Regions from separate parts of the Homo sapiens genome. Here region 2 is linked to region 1. The links are contacts of gene promoters, found by promoter capture Hi-C in human tissues and cell types (Jung and others, 2019). All regions are on one chromosome and are shown on one strand. The core of a region is centred on a gene start or on the middle of the fragment in contact, and the rest is flanking DNA. Distances in the headings are between cores, read along the strand shown. Region 1 holds the start of FGD2 (FYVE, RhoGEF and PH domain containing 2). Region 2 overlaps RAB44 (RAB44, member RAS oncogene family).

What was found. Contacts are between HindIII fragments. The study calls those that stand out against the background at their distance.
Region 2: a contact is called between a fragment that was not itself captured here and the fragment with the promoter of FGD2 in region 1, in 2 of the 25 tissues and cell types used here (aorta and spleen).

Annotation. Positions count from the first base shown.
Region 1 is chr6:37,004,405-37,009,986 of GRCh38, reverse strand. It overlaps FGD2 (FYVE, RhoGEF and PH domain containing 2), which reads right to left and starts at 4,332. Exons shown (of 16, transcript NM_173558.4): 1 at 4,102-4,332; 2 at 922-1,153. The coding sequence starts at 4,169. RefSeq lists enhancers at 2,197-2,366, 4,187-4,316 and a silencer at 4,572-4,734. The HindIII fragment of the contact is 13,068 bases long and covers 4,222-5,582 here.
Region 2 is chr6:36,705,977-36,712,991 of GRCh38, reverse strand. The region is part of intron 2 of RAB44 (RAB44, member RAS oncogene family); the gene reads right to left. Among named protein-coding and RNA genes, the nearest start is that of RAB44, 12 kb to the right of the region's middle. The HindIII fragment of the contact is 5,627 bases long and covers 1,077-6,703 here.

The DNA.
Region 1 (5,582 bases), core at 3,083-5,582:
GCTAGAGTGGAGTGGCGCAATCTCGGCTCACTGCAACCTCCTCCTCCTGGATTCAAGTGATTCTCCTGTCTCAGCCTACTGAGTAGCTGGGATTACAGGCGCCCACCACCATGCCCAACTAATTTTTGTATTTTTAGTTGAGACAGTGTTTCCCTATGTTGGCCAGGCTGGTCTTGAACTCCTGACCTCAGGTGATCTGCCCACCTCGGCCTCCCAAAGTGCTGGGATTACAGGCGTGAGTTACTGCACCCGGCCAGCCGCTACATTTTTGATAGGTTTGTTCAGCAGCGATTGAAAACCAGGACGCATTACTATAACCACTATCCCCATTTTACAAATGAGGAAACTGGCACAAAGAGACTCAAGTGACTTGCCCAAGGACACACAGTTAGTAAGCAGACGTGCTGGGATGTGACTCCAGGGAATTTGGGTGCACAGTATCTGCATGCCAACCCTTGAACTCTGCAGATGAGAAAACTGCAAGCCACAGAAGAGATCAGACTGGGCTTTAGTCTAAGGGCAGGACAGTTCACACTCAGACCTCTATTTCTAGGTTGAGATTGTTGTCTCCTCCAGTGGGTAAACTGAGGCCCCACCTGAGAAGAGTATTAGGTTCACAAGATGGAGACTGTTCCAAGCTGTGTGGCCTTGAATAAGTTCCTTAAAACTGTGTTTCAACTTCCTTGTCCAAAAAACTCCTACACGAGGGACTCGCGAAGTAATCCAGCACGGTGCGTAGCAGGCAGTTAGTGAATCAAAGGCCATTAAGCATGGGGAAATCTAGCTCCCAGCTGACCTCTGATCACACCATACCCCCACCTGGGGAACTGCTGGCTCTGGCTAGGAAAGCATGTGTGGAGGGGAGGTCAGGGAGAGCTCCCCACCCCAGCACCCCACACCTCTACCTCAGCCCTCAGGCACCTGCGTCCCCGATCCTGAGAGGGTCACAGGCTGGCAAGATTTCCTCCAGGCTTCGCTGGACAGCTTGTTCTTCAGGGAGTTCAGGTACCTCCTGCTGACTGTCCTGGGCTCAGACCCCACGGCCTCCCCGACATTCGTCTTCTCCCGTGGTCCTGGGGACTCGGGAGGCCTGCACTCAGGGCGGTGATGCACGTCCTCTAGCCTCTGGCCTCTGGGTGCTGCTTCTGGGGTCCTGAGGAGAAGAGACAGACCTGAGGGCTTCCTCCCTGGAGAACAGGGAAAACAGCAGCAAGTCCCTGGTGTGGATTTGGGTTGCCTGGTGCAAATCCCCAGTGCAGGGGCCCCTGGGTGCCTGGCTTTCTTTGGGAACATGCTGAGTAAGACTTTCACTTCTCTCCCAACACATTCTTGGAGGGAACTCAGTGTTCAAAATGAGTCAGGGTGGACTATATTTTATTTTCTGGGGAACTGCATACTTCCTTGTTTAAAATGAAGCCACAGTGTCCAGGAATCCTTTCTGTATATAGGGGTTTTTGAGTGGTACCCCCTGGATTATCCTCACCTTTGGACCTCACCTCTGTTTTCAGTTTCCACATCAGTAACCTATACATCAAGGGAAGGTAGGAGCCACAGAACAATATAAAGTGAGAGCAGGCCTGCAAAAGCTGGGGCTTCTCAATGGGATCGACATCCTCCACACGTCCAGAAGCAGGGAGAGCCAGCCCAGCAGCAGATGCTCTGTTCTCCCAGGGACGGGCCTTCGTAGGTCACCTTTATTACCCTGTGTACTGGGTTCTGCAAGCCAGTCAAATTCCTTAGACAACAGGGCCCACCCTTGATGAATACACCCAACGTTGCCCTTGGTGTGGAAGGGCTTGTGATGACAGAACAGGGCAGGCATCCTTATGAGAAAGACAGGCCAGGAAATGGAAGGCCAAACAAATACGAAATCTCCAAAACTCCGTGAGAAAGGTTTTCATTACCCATATTTTGCACTCAAGGAAACTGAGGTCTGGACAGGATGAGTAACATGCGGCTCGGAAGTGGCAGAGGTGGGATTCAAATCAGGCGACTGCTTCCTGAGCCTTCACTCTAACCTGCCCCTCCCCATTTGAGTAAAGGAGAAACAGGTCCGCGGAGTCAAAGTGACTTGCCCCAAGTGACACAATTGGGTTTGTGGCAGCGAAAGCATTGGGACCTAGTGCTGTGTGGCTACTCCCAGGCTCTCCCACCCCTCCCTGGCACCCCAGTCCCTGGTTTCTCAGCCCATGGGTCTGCAGCTCATGGGCGTAGCTGGTTCTCAGGCTTTCTGTTCTACATTTGGTTTCAGGTTCTGCATTTCTGTTCTAGGGCCCCTGGCCAGCTTCTGTTTCCTCTTTGCCCCTCAGTTTCAGATCAGCTGAGGTGCTGGAGACCTCATAAGGAAGCCCAGGCCAAGGCAGTTGGTATGGGTCCCCTCACTCAGTAAGGAGTGGCTCTCACCCTCTTGATGCCTGCTGGGACCTAACTCCCGTCTAAGGGCTGCCCACTCCTGCCAGGGTTATTGCCTGGGCAGAGCACAGCATGCTGAGGGGCTCCACCCAGGTGTGCCTAGTCCACGTCAAGCATGTTGAGTGAGGTGGTACCATCCACCCACACCCAAGGGGGTGGTGGGCCAGGAAGGCGGCACCCAAGAGCTGTCTTTGGTGCTGAACAGGACGAGCTTGGCAAAGATCCCGGGAGAGGCAGGGGAGAATCACCCAGCTCAGGAAGTTGAAGACTTCTAGGTCTACATCTATGCCATCTCCACCCTGAAGCCTACAGGAAACATTGCCTGCCATGAGTGCCCTCAATACAGCATCCGGGCCATTCCTAGGACATCTACTGTCTATGACCTTGCATCATAGTTATTCGATGAGCTCAGCATCCAAATACTGAAACCCTTCTTCATCCTCTACAGTTCCTGTAGGATGCTGTGCTGTGCCACCCATGTCCCTCCTTCAGGAATGAGGCCTCCCCACACCATCCCCACCAGCTACTGGTAGTACTGGGGGCTGCCGGGTAATTTATTGGCTGAGTCCCTCTCTGGGAATCACTCTCTGGAAGAGAGAGCTGCCTCACCCAGAGTCTCTTGTCCAGTCCACATGGAGATACAAATACCCAGCCCTCTTCCTCAGCTGGAACAACCGAGAGGCATCCCAGCTCCAGAGCTCCCTGGGACAGGCTGAGGCCTCTGTGGCAGGTGCACTGCAGTTCAGCATCTCCCCCTGCCCGGCCCTGCTTCCCTCACACCCACAGCTGTTGTTCCCAAAAGCTCTCCCTGATAAATCACCTGAGGCAAACCTCTGTCTGAGTCTATTTCCAGAAAACCCTACCTGGGACAGCCCCTAACACAGTCCTGAGCTTAAGAAATGCCTGCAGAATGGATTGATGCCACACATAACACACAACACACACATACACACACGCGCACACACACAAACACACATGCTCCCAGGGCTACCAATGACTCCACGCATCTGGCCCAGCCTTTTCCCTCCAGACAGACGCCCCAGCATTGCCCCAGATACTTAAAGCACTTGGCATCCTCACCTCTCTGTGTCTCCATTTCCTCATCTATAAGACGGGAACAGAAACAGAATCTACCCCTATTAGGCTGTTCGATGACTAAATTAAATAAGTAAGGACATGAACTTAGAGTAGGGAGTACCCCATCAGGATGCTGCCCGTACATCCTGGTTTGCCTCATACGGTCCCAGCTTTACCTGTAATGCCTCCCCCACAACCACCACATTTTATTTGGCATTTACTTTCAGTTTCAATTGTGTGCTGAATGATAAATTATATGGTTATCCTAATCATAGGGCGTAAATTCTTGGTGAGTATCAGCTACCTTTTCTGAGAGGTGCTGGCAGGCACTGGGTGGGGTCCTGTGCCCACACACAGGCTTTGGTCTGCCCATGCTTGCTCGTAACCACACCTGTCTGGACTCTCCCAACACACACTGGCACTCTCACCCCTGCCTGGCTCCTGGTGTCCCACCGACACTCTCCCATGCTCCAAGGAATCCGTGACCGAGGAACGCGGGGCTGCCCCTGCAGGAGGAGGGTCCGGGGCAGGGCCCAGGGAGAGAGCTGCCAGAAAGGCTGGAGGGTGGCTGCCAGCCCACCATGGTGACCCTCCCACCCCAGCTGCCCATACCTGCTATTCTCAAACACAGTGACCAGGTTGGACACAGATGCCAGCTTCTCCTCACTTGCCCCCTTCATCCTGCCGGTTTCCGGGGTGGATCTCAGCTACCCTCGAAGCAGAGAGAGAGGCCTCCAGCCAGCACACTCAGCCACGCTGGCCTGGGACAGATAGGCTAAATCACCCATGAATCTGTTCTGATCTTTCTTGAGGGCTCAGAAGGTCGGCTCTTGGCTTCAGAGTGAAGAAAGAGGAAGTGGTCCCAGAGCCACAGCCCTGCAGGGGAAAGGCCAGCACTCCCGCAGTGGGAGGAGCCTGCTCGGGCCCCACCTCTCCCTCAGGGGGGCTGACCTTTCACACCTGTAGACCCCCATTCCAGAAGCCACCTAAGAGGTGGCAACAGGGCCCAGAGGTAGCTTCTGGAGCCCAGTCTGGGCTGGTGCAGTGGTTTGCACCTCTAATTCCAGTGCTTTGGGAGGCCGAAGCAGGAGGATTGCTTGAGCCCAGGAGTTCAAGACCAACCTGGGCAACATAGTGAGACACCGTCTCTTAAAAAAAAAAAAAAAAAAAAAGGCCACCCGGAGCCAGACCCTTGGCTGGTTTCTTGGCCTAGTGGTTCCAGCCAACCACACTTTCTCCTTCAGAAGGTCCAGTGGCTTTTACTTGGCCTCTTTCCCAGCACCTTCTTTTCTGCATCTGCCCCTGCTCACAGCTGTAAGGAAATAATGTCTTTTTTATTCTTTAGAGACAGAGTGCGGTGGTGGGATCTCGGCTCACTGCACCCTCTGCCTCCCGGTTCAAGCGATTCTCCTGCCTCAGCCTCCTGAGTAGCCGGGATTACAGGGCCTGCCACCACGCCCTGCTAATTATTTGTATTTTTAGTAGAGATGGGGTTTCACCATGTTGCTCAGGCTGGTCTTGAACTCCTGGCCTCAGGTGATCCTCCTGCCTCGGCCTCCCAAAATTCTGGGATTACAGATGTGAGCCACTGTGCCTGGCCAGGAAACAGCATGTTTTATTTAAAATAATCACAAACCTGGTAAGGGTGGCAGGGAGTACTGTGATGTTCCCACCTCCCCACTGGGGTTCTCTCATTTTAGTTGTTGCTGTCATCACCTCATTGCCCCAAGGGAGGGCAGTTTCCTCCCTGAAACTCAGAGGATAATAATAGCTAACATGCACTCTTTTTCATGCTTATGAGTATTTTCTTATTAATCCTATAACAACCTCATGAGGTAGGTACTATTCCTATCCCCACTTTACATAGGAAGAAACAGAATCAGAGAGGTTAAGTAACTTGCCCAAGGTCACCCAGGAAGAATACAAGAGAAGTTGGATTTCCAAAGCAAAAGTGGGTGTCCTACAGTTCCAGCAAAGGTTCGTTGGGAGCCTGGATGACCATGTTCTTGCTGCTCCATCCCCAGGCCTCCCTGATCCCAGGACACTGGGTTGTCTTTGCCTGAGGCCTCCTTTACCACCTGGTCTCCCGGCCC
Region 2 (7,015 bases), core at 2,641-5,140, 300 kb after region 1:
CAGAGAGGGAATCCCCAAGCATAATAGAACTTTGAGTTTGCTGATTCTCTGTTTCTCTAGTTACTTTTTTTCCTTTCTGTGAATTTCGTGTTTTTATCTGAGGCCGCACATGACTGATAAGTTATTCCCCATTGGTGGCAGCAGTGATGGTCTGGTCTAAACCAGTGATGGTCTTTATGTTCTATTTGGTGATCTCTGGGGGATGCATCATGGAGACTTAATGCCTATTGGTTGAAAAATAACAGAAAAACTGGTTTGCTAATCGTTTTGTTGTTGCTGTTGTTGTTTGTTTTTCTATTTGTGATCTCAAATTAGTTAAGAATTCCAGGCCGGGTGCAGTGGCTCACACCTGTAATCCCAGCACTTTGAGAGGCCGAGGCGGGCAGATCACTTGAGGTCAGGAGTTCGAGACCAGCCTGGCCAACATGGTGAAACTCCGTCTCTACTAAAAATACAAAAACTAGCCGGGCATTGTGGTGGGCGCCTGTAATCCCAGCTACTCAGGAGGCTGAAGCAGGGGAATCACTTGAAACCGGGAGAAGGAGGTTGCAGTGAGCCGAGATCGCACCACTGCACTCTAGCCTGGGCAACAGAATGAGACTGTATCTCAAAGAAAAATAATTTCATATCCACTGGGACTGGGAAGGAGAACAGCTCTTTGAGATCTGGATTGGTGAGTTTTCATGTTTCATGTTGTTGTGTTTACTGTCATTCAGGCTGGAATGCAGTGGCACAATCTTGGCTCACTGCAACCTCCACCTCCCGAGTTCAACTAATTCTCCTGCCTCAGCCTCTTGAGTAGCTGGGATTACCTGTGCCTGCCACCACACCTGGCTAGTTTTTGTATTTTTAGTAGAGATGGGGTTTCACCATGTTGGCCAAGCTGGTCTCGAACCCCTGACCTCAGGTGATCCACCTGCCTCAGCCTCCCAAAGTACTGGGATTACAGGCATGAGCCACCACGCCCAGCCTGCTGTGTTTACTTTTGATCTGTGGCTGGAACTGTAGAAATGAAGCAAGACATTCTCTGTGTGTCTGTGTATCTATATGTCTGTAATAGACAGGCCTTTAACTCTTTTTTTTTTTTTTGAGATGGAGTCTTACTCTGTCACTCAAGCTGGAATGCAGTGGCGCAATCTTGGCTCACTGCAACCTCCACTTCCTGGGTTCAAGTGATTCTCCTGCCTCAGCCTCCCGAGTAGCTGGGATTACAGGAATGTACCACCACGCCCGAAAGGTCTTTAACTCTTATGTCAGTGTGAAATACTTTTGTACATCTGGAAGGTATTAATAACTTAGCGTACTATGTCTCTTAAAGGAGTTCTGTGTTGATTGGTTTATAGAGACAAATAAGTGATTATATAACTCTAATTCTCCTAAAAATAACAGAAAATAACTGAAATTTGAATGCTTTAAATGACTTAGACTTAAAACAATTCTTCTTAGAAATCGCTAGCTCAGAAAATTTTTCAGGAGCCAGGTCCATATAATTAACATGATTCTTTGAACAAATTAGACTGGTTTAATAATTGTTTTGATAAAACACATATAATAGCTATCTGTCTTTTCTGTGCTTTATGTTAAGTATAATTCAAGTATACATTCTGTTTTTCATAAGATCTATATTTGTTTTCTGTGAAGAAACGAGTTAATCTAGATTTCCTATACTTCTCATTTCGACTTTCGGATCAAATAAGTCAACTTTATCTTTACATATGTTTGAGATTATAAACATGTAAATTTGTGCCCCACTAAATTGATTAATTACTCTAACAAATAAATTTTGTATCAACAGTAATTATAACTTCCAGTGTGTCACCTTAAACACAGTTTCCAAGATTCTTAGGTAACTTTAAAATTTTGAATTAATATTGAAGTACATCAATTAATAAATAATTTTTGGCTATCTGGATAATTTCTAAAACAAATTTAATACTGAAACATTGATTGCTAGGCATATTTTTAAGTTGATATATTTTTTACTTCTTATTTTCACATGCTGGAAAGTAGCTATATCTTTAGGTAATGTTAAATGAATTCATTTTTTTCTGCTTTAAAAAGTTGTGCAGTCTGGGCGAGGTGACTCACGCCTGTAATCCTAGCACTTTGGGAGACCAAGGCAAGTGGATCACCTGAGGTCAGGAGTTCAAGACCAGCCTAGCCAACATGGTGAAACCCTGTCTCTACTAAAAACACAAAACTTAGCCACACGTGATGGTGCATGCCTGTAATCCCAGCTACTCTACTCAGGAGGCTGAGGCAGGAGAATCACTTGATCCCAGGAGGCGGAGGTTGCGGTGAGCCAAGATCATGCCACTGCACTCCAGCCTGGATGACAGAGTGAGACTCCCAGGAGGCGGAGGTTGCAGTGAGCCAAGATCATGCCACTGCACTCCAGCCTGGACGACAGAGTGAGACTCCATCTCAATTAAAAAAAAAAAAAAGTTGTACAAAAGAAAGCGGCAAAGACCCAGATATTTGTATGCCCATATTCATAGCAGCATTATTTACAATCACCAAAAGAATCAACCCAAGTGTTCACTGACAGATAAGAGGGTAGACAAAATGTGACGTATATGTACAACGGAATATCATTTGGTCTTTAAAAAGAACATTTGGACACATGCTACGATACAGATAAACCTTGAGGACATTCTGCTATGTGAAATACACCAGTAACTAAAAGACAAATACTGTATGATTCCATTTCTATGAGGTATCTAGAGTAATCAAAGTTATAGAGACAGAAAGTAGACTAGGGATAGCCAGGGGTTGGGGAGAGGGAAGTATGGGAGTTACTGTTCGATGGGTGCAGAATTTCAGTTTGGCAAGATGAAAGAAGCTTTGGAGATGGCTGGGGAAATGGTGGTACAACATCGTGAATGTACTTAATGCCACTGAATGGTACATTTAAAAATAGTTAAAATGATAAATTTTCTGTTATGCATTGCATATTTGACCACTTTTTTTAAAAGTTGTGTTAGGGATATGCAAGGCTGTAGAAAGTTGGCTTATGTGTATTTGTGAGCTTTGCTTGTCTGCTAAAATGCTTGTATAAGACAGTTCTCAATTATTTACCCTTAGTTCTTTCTGTGAAAGAGGTTAATTACACTGGTTAAAAGTGCAATTAATACAGGCTGGGCATGGTGGCTCACACCTGTAATCCCAGCACTTTGGGAGGCCTAGGCAGGTGGATCACTTGAGGTCAGGAGTTCGAGACCAGCTTGGCCAACATGGTGAAACCCTGTCTCTACTAAAAACAGAAAAAATCCTCCTGGCATGGTGGCGGGCGTCTGTAATTCCAGCTAATTGGGTGGCTGAGGCATGAGAATAGCTTGAACCCAGAAGGCGGAGGTTGCAGTGAGCTGAGATTGCGCCACTGCACTACAGCCCGGACAACAGAGCAAGACCCTGTCTCAAAACAACGGCAACAACAACAACAGTTCAATTAACTACAGATGCTTGAGGCTTTACTAGGAGCTATAGCGACAGACAAACAAAACTTTGTCTGCAAGGAAAATGGGATGCACTGTTGTGTGAAATTGTCTGGTTATTCTACAACATGAAAAAGGATAAAAAGGCAAAACTTGAATGGATATAGAATGTCGTAGAAAGTTTACTGAAAGAGAATTTTATTTGCCTTGATTTATAATGCCTGAGTCTGAAAATAAGCTATGAAATGTATTAACATTTTGCCAAATTTGGCCCAGTTTTAATGGGCTTAAAAATTGATGATAAATAGGCTTGGCACAGTGGCTCATGCCTGTAATCCCAGCACTTTGGGAGGCCGAGGCGGGTGGATCACCTGAGGTTAGGAGTTCAAGACCAGCCTGGTCAACATAGTGAAACCCGTCTCTACTAAAAATAAAAATAAAAAAAAATAGCCAGAGGTGGTGGCAGGCGCCTGTAATCCCAGCTACTCAGGAGGCTGAGGCAGGGGAATCGCTTGAACCCAGGAGGCAGAGGTTGCAGTGAGCCAAGATCACGCCATTGCACTCCAGCCTGGGCAACAAGAGTGAAACTGTCTCAAATGATAATAATAAAAATAAAAATAAATAAATAAAAATAAGTAAAAAGAAATAATAAAAACTCATGAAAATTTTATGGCCACATATTCTATTAAAGCAAAACTAGAATTTATCTTTATCTCTACTAAAATAATAAATTGGTCTTAGAGCTCTTAGCAAGGGTTAAAAAGAGGCTACTGTTTAGCTTCTGTGTAAGCCTCCCAGATAACAGAGATTCCCTATCTATCTCCCCAGAATCATTTCCTCTGCTTTGTTTTGAACTTATTATATCTTATTTTAAAAAACAAAAAGCAAAGGTATCTCCCTTATAAAAAAGCTATCTACTCTTGTAATCATATTACCTTCTTCTATGTTTATTTCAAAATATTTTATTTTATTATTACTTCGATTAAATAGATAACAAAGTAATATTTCTTGGTCTCCCATGACGTCTTAATCTAGTGCCTAAATCTTCTCTAACCGTTCTTTTGATTTTGCCTTCCCAAGATCAGATCCTAAATTTAGAAAAAAATACAATAAAAATTTTAAGATATCTTTCTCTATATGTTTTAAATACTTCAACACTATTACAAGATCATCATGGGAAGAGCAATCAAATCAGAAGAGATGTTCAGGCTTTCCTAGGCTAAATTTTCATAGGTAAAATGCTATTAATATCAATATTTCAGAAATTGCATGCTTTATGTGAAGGCCCTGGAGATTTTTCAATGATTTTGCTATTTATAATATGTTCTTTTTTTTTTTTCTTTCTTGAGACAGGTTCTCACTCTGCCTCCCAGGCTGGTGTGCAGTGGCGTGATCATGGCTCACTGCAGCCTTGACCTCCCAGGCTCAAGCAATCTTCCCACCTTAGCCTCCCAAGTAGCTGGGACTGCAGGTGCACACCACCACACCTGGCTAATTTTTTAAACCTTTTTATAGGATGGAATCTCTCCATATTGTCCAGACTGGTCTTGAATTTCTGGGCTCAAGTGATCCTCCTGCCTCAGCCTCCCAAAGTCCTGGTATTACAGGCAGTATGTTTTTATCTTCAGGGGAAAAACTGATCAAACCATTATGAAATAGTTGTGCATTGTACCCCAGGAGAGAATTCCACTGTCCTCCGTTCTGATATTATTAGGTAGTGTAATACATAACCACAGCCTTTCAGTGTCATTACTGGACATGTTTCTCCTTTCCAATGCCTGCCTGAAGCCTCTGCTATAAGCTGCAGGCCACAGACTGCATCTTCAACAAAGAAAAACACACTCAAAGTCTAGAGAAAAAGGACTGTACCAGGTTCGATGAACTATTTATGCTTCACTTGGGTGTAGGCTTCCAAGCTGACACTGGATGTCCTTTTGACTGAGCTAGTAGACTGAGGATTCCTACAACTCTTTTGAGTCCAAAAGCAGACAGCTTACCCAAGATCCGGCAGAACAATAATTGATTACATGGTGTTGATTGAACAGCCAAAGGAAATCTAGTTATGGCTCTTTGTGGGCAATATAGTTGATATTATTTTTTATTGTTCTACTTTAATAGATCTGTAAGGAAGCTCTTTCCTGGTCTTCTTGAGCTGTCTCTAACCCTCAGTTTAGTAGATTATACTTTTTTTTTTTTTTGAGACAGAGCCTCACTCTGCTGTCACCCAGGCTGGAGTGCAGTGGCTTGATCTCGGCTTACTGCAGCCTCCGCCTCCCACGTTGAAGTGATTTTCCTGCCTCAGCCTCCCAAGTAGCTAGGATTACAGACACACATTACAGCCTCCCAAGTAGCTAGGAATACAGAAAATAGCCACCACGCCTGGCTAATTTTTGTATTTTTAGTAGAGACGGGGTTTCACCATGTTGGTCAGGCTAGTCAGGAACTCCTAATCTCAGGTGATCTGCCCACCTCAGCCTCCCAAAATGCTGAGATTACAGGCGTGAGCCACCATGCCCTGCCAGATTATACTTTTGTAAACTGATATTCAACATTTCAAGTGGTATCTGAATCTCACTGACCCCCTCACAATTCAGAAACCAATAATTTTAAGCCCGGGCAACATGGAGAAACCCGCAACCCTGCCTCTATAAAAAATACAAAACATCAGCTGGGCATGGTGGCGCAGGCCTGTAGTCCCAGCTACTCAAGAGGCTGAGGCGAGAGGATCACTTGAACCCAGGAGGCGGAGGTTGCAATGAGCCAAGATCGCACCACTGCACTCCAGCCTAGGTGAAAGAGCAAGACCCTGTCTCAAAAAAAAAAAAAATTACTTTTACAGACTCTCCTTACTTTCTATGGCAATATAATTATTTGCACAGGTTCAACAGAATCTGTCCTCCTTTTTTATCAAGATATAATTGGATAAATCAATTGTGCAATCAAGGCCTTACCTGGAGTGTCTTTTTATGGGATGTCCTCATTTAATCAGGTGTGACAAGCCTACTATAAGGAATGCTCATGGAGCTACTTCCTACAAAACCCTACCAGGAAGCTGGCCTGGAACGACAGGGATTGCTTCCTGGCAGAAGAGGGACCTTAGAAAAATCAGGGACCTCAAGAAGACAGGAAGCCATTTAAATTTACAGGTGATGCAGGTGACATCTGGTGAAGAGAATATCTTGGGATTCCTTTTCTAGCCTTAGGACAGAAGTTGGGTAACCAACTCATCCTAGTTTGCCCAGGACTTTCCAATTTTAGCACTCGAAGTCCCACATCCCAGGTACCCCATTAGTCCTTGGAAAACTGGAGCAGTTGGTCACTCAATAGAACAAACTACAGATTTTTAAAAGTCCAACCAGCCTGGGCATGGCAGCTCACACCTGTAATCTCAGCAGGTGTGAAACCTGAGGTGGGGGGATTGCTTGAGGCCAGAAGTTAGACAACAGCTTGGGCAACATAGCAAGACCTCATCTTTATAAAAAATTTAAGAATCAGCCAGGCGTAGTGGCCTGTGCCTTTAGTCCTAGCTACTTGGGAGCCTGAGGTGAGAGAATCGCTTCAGCCCAGGAGCTTGAGGTTGC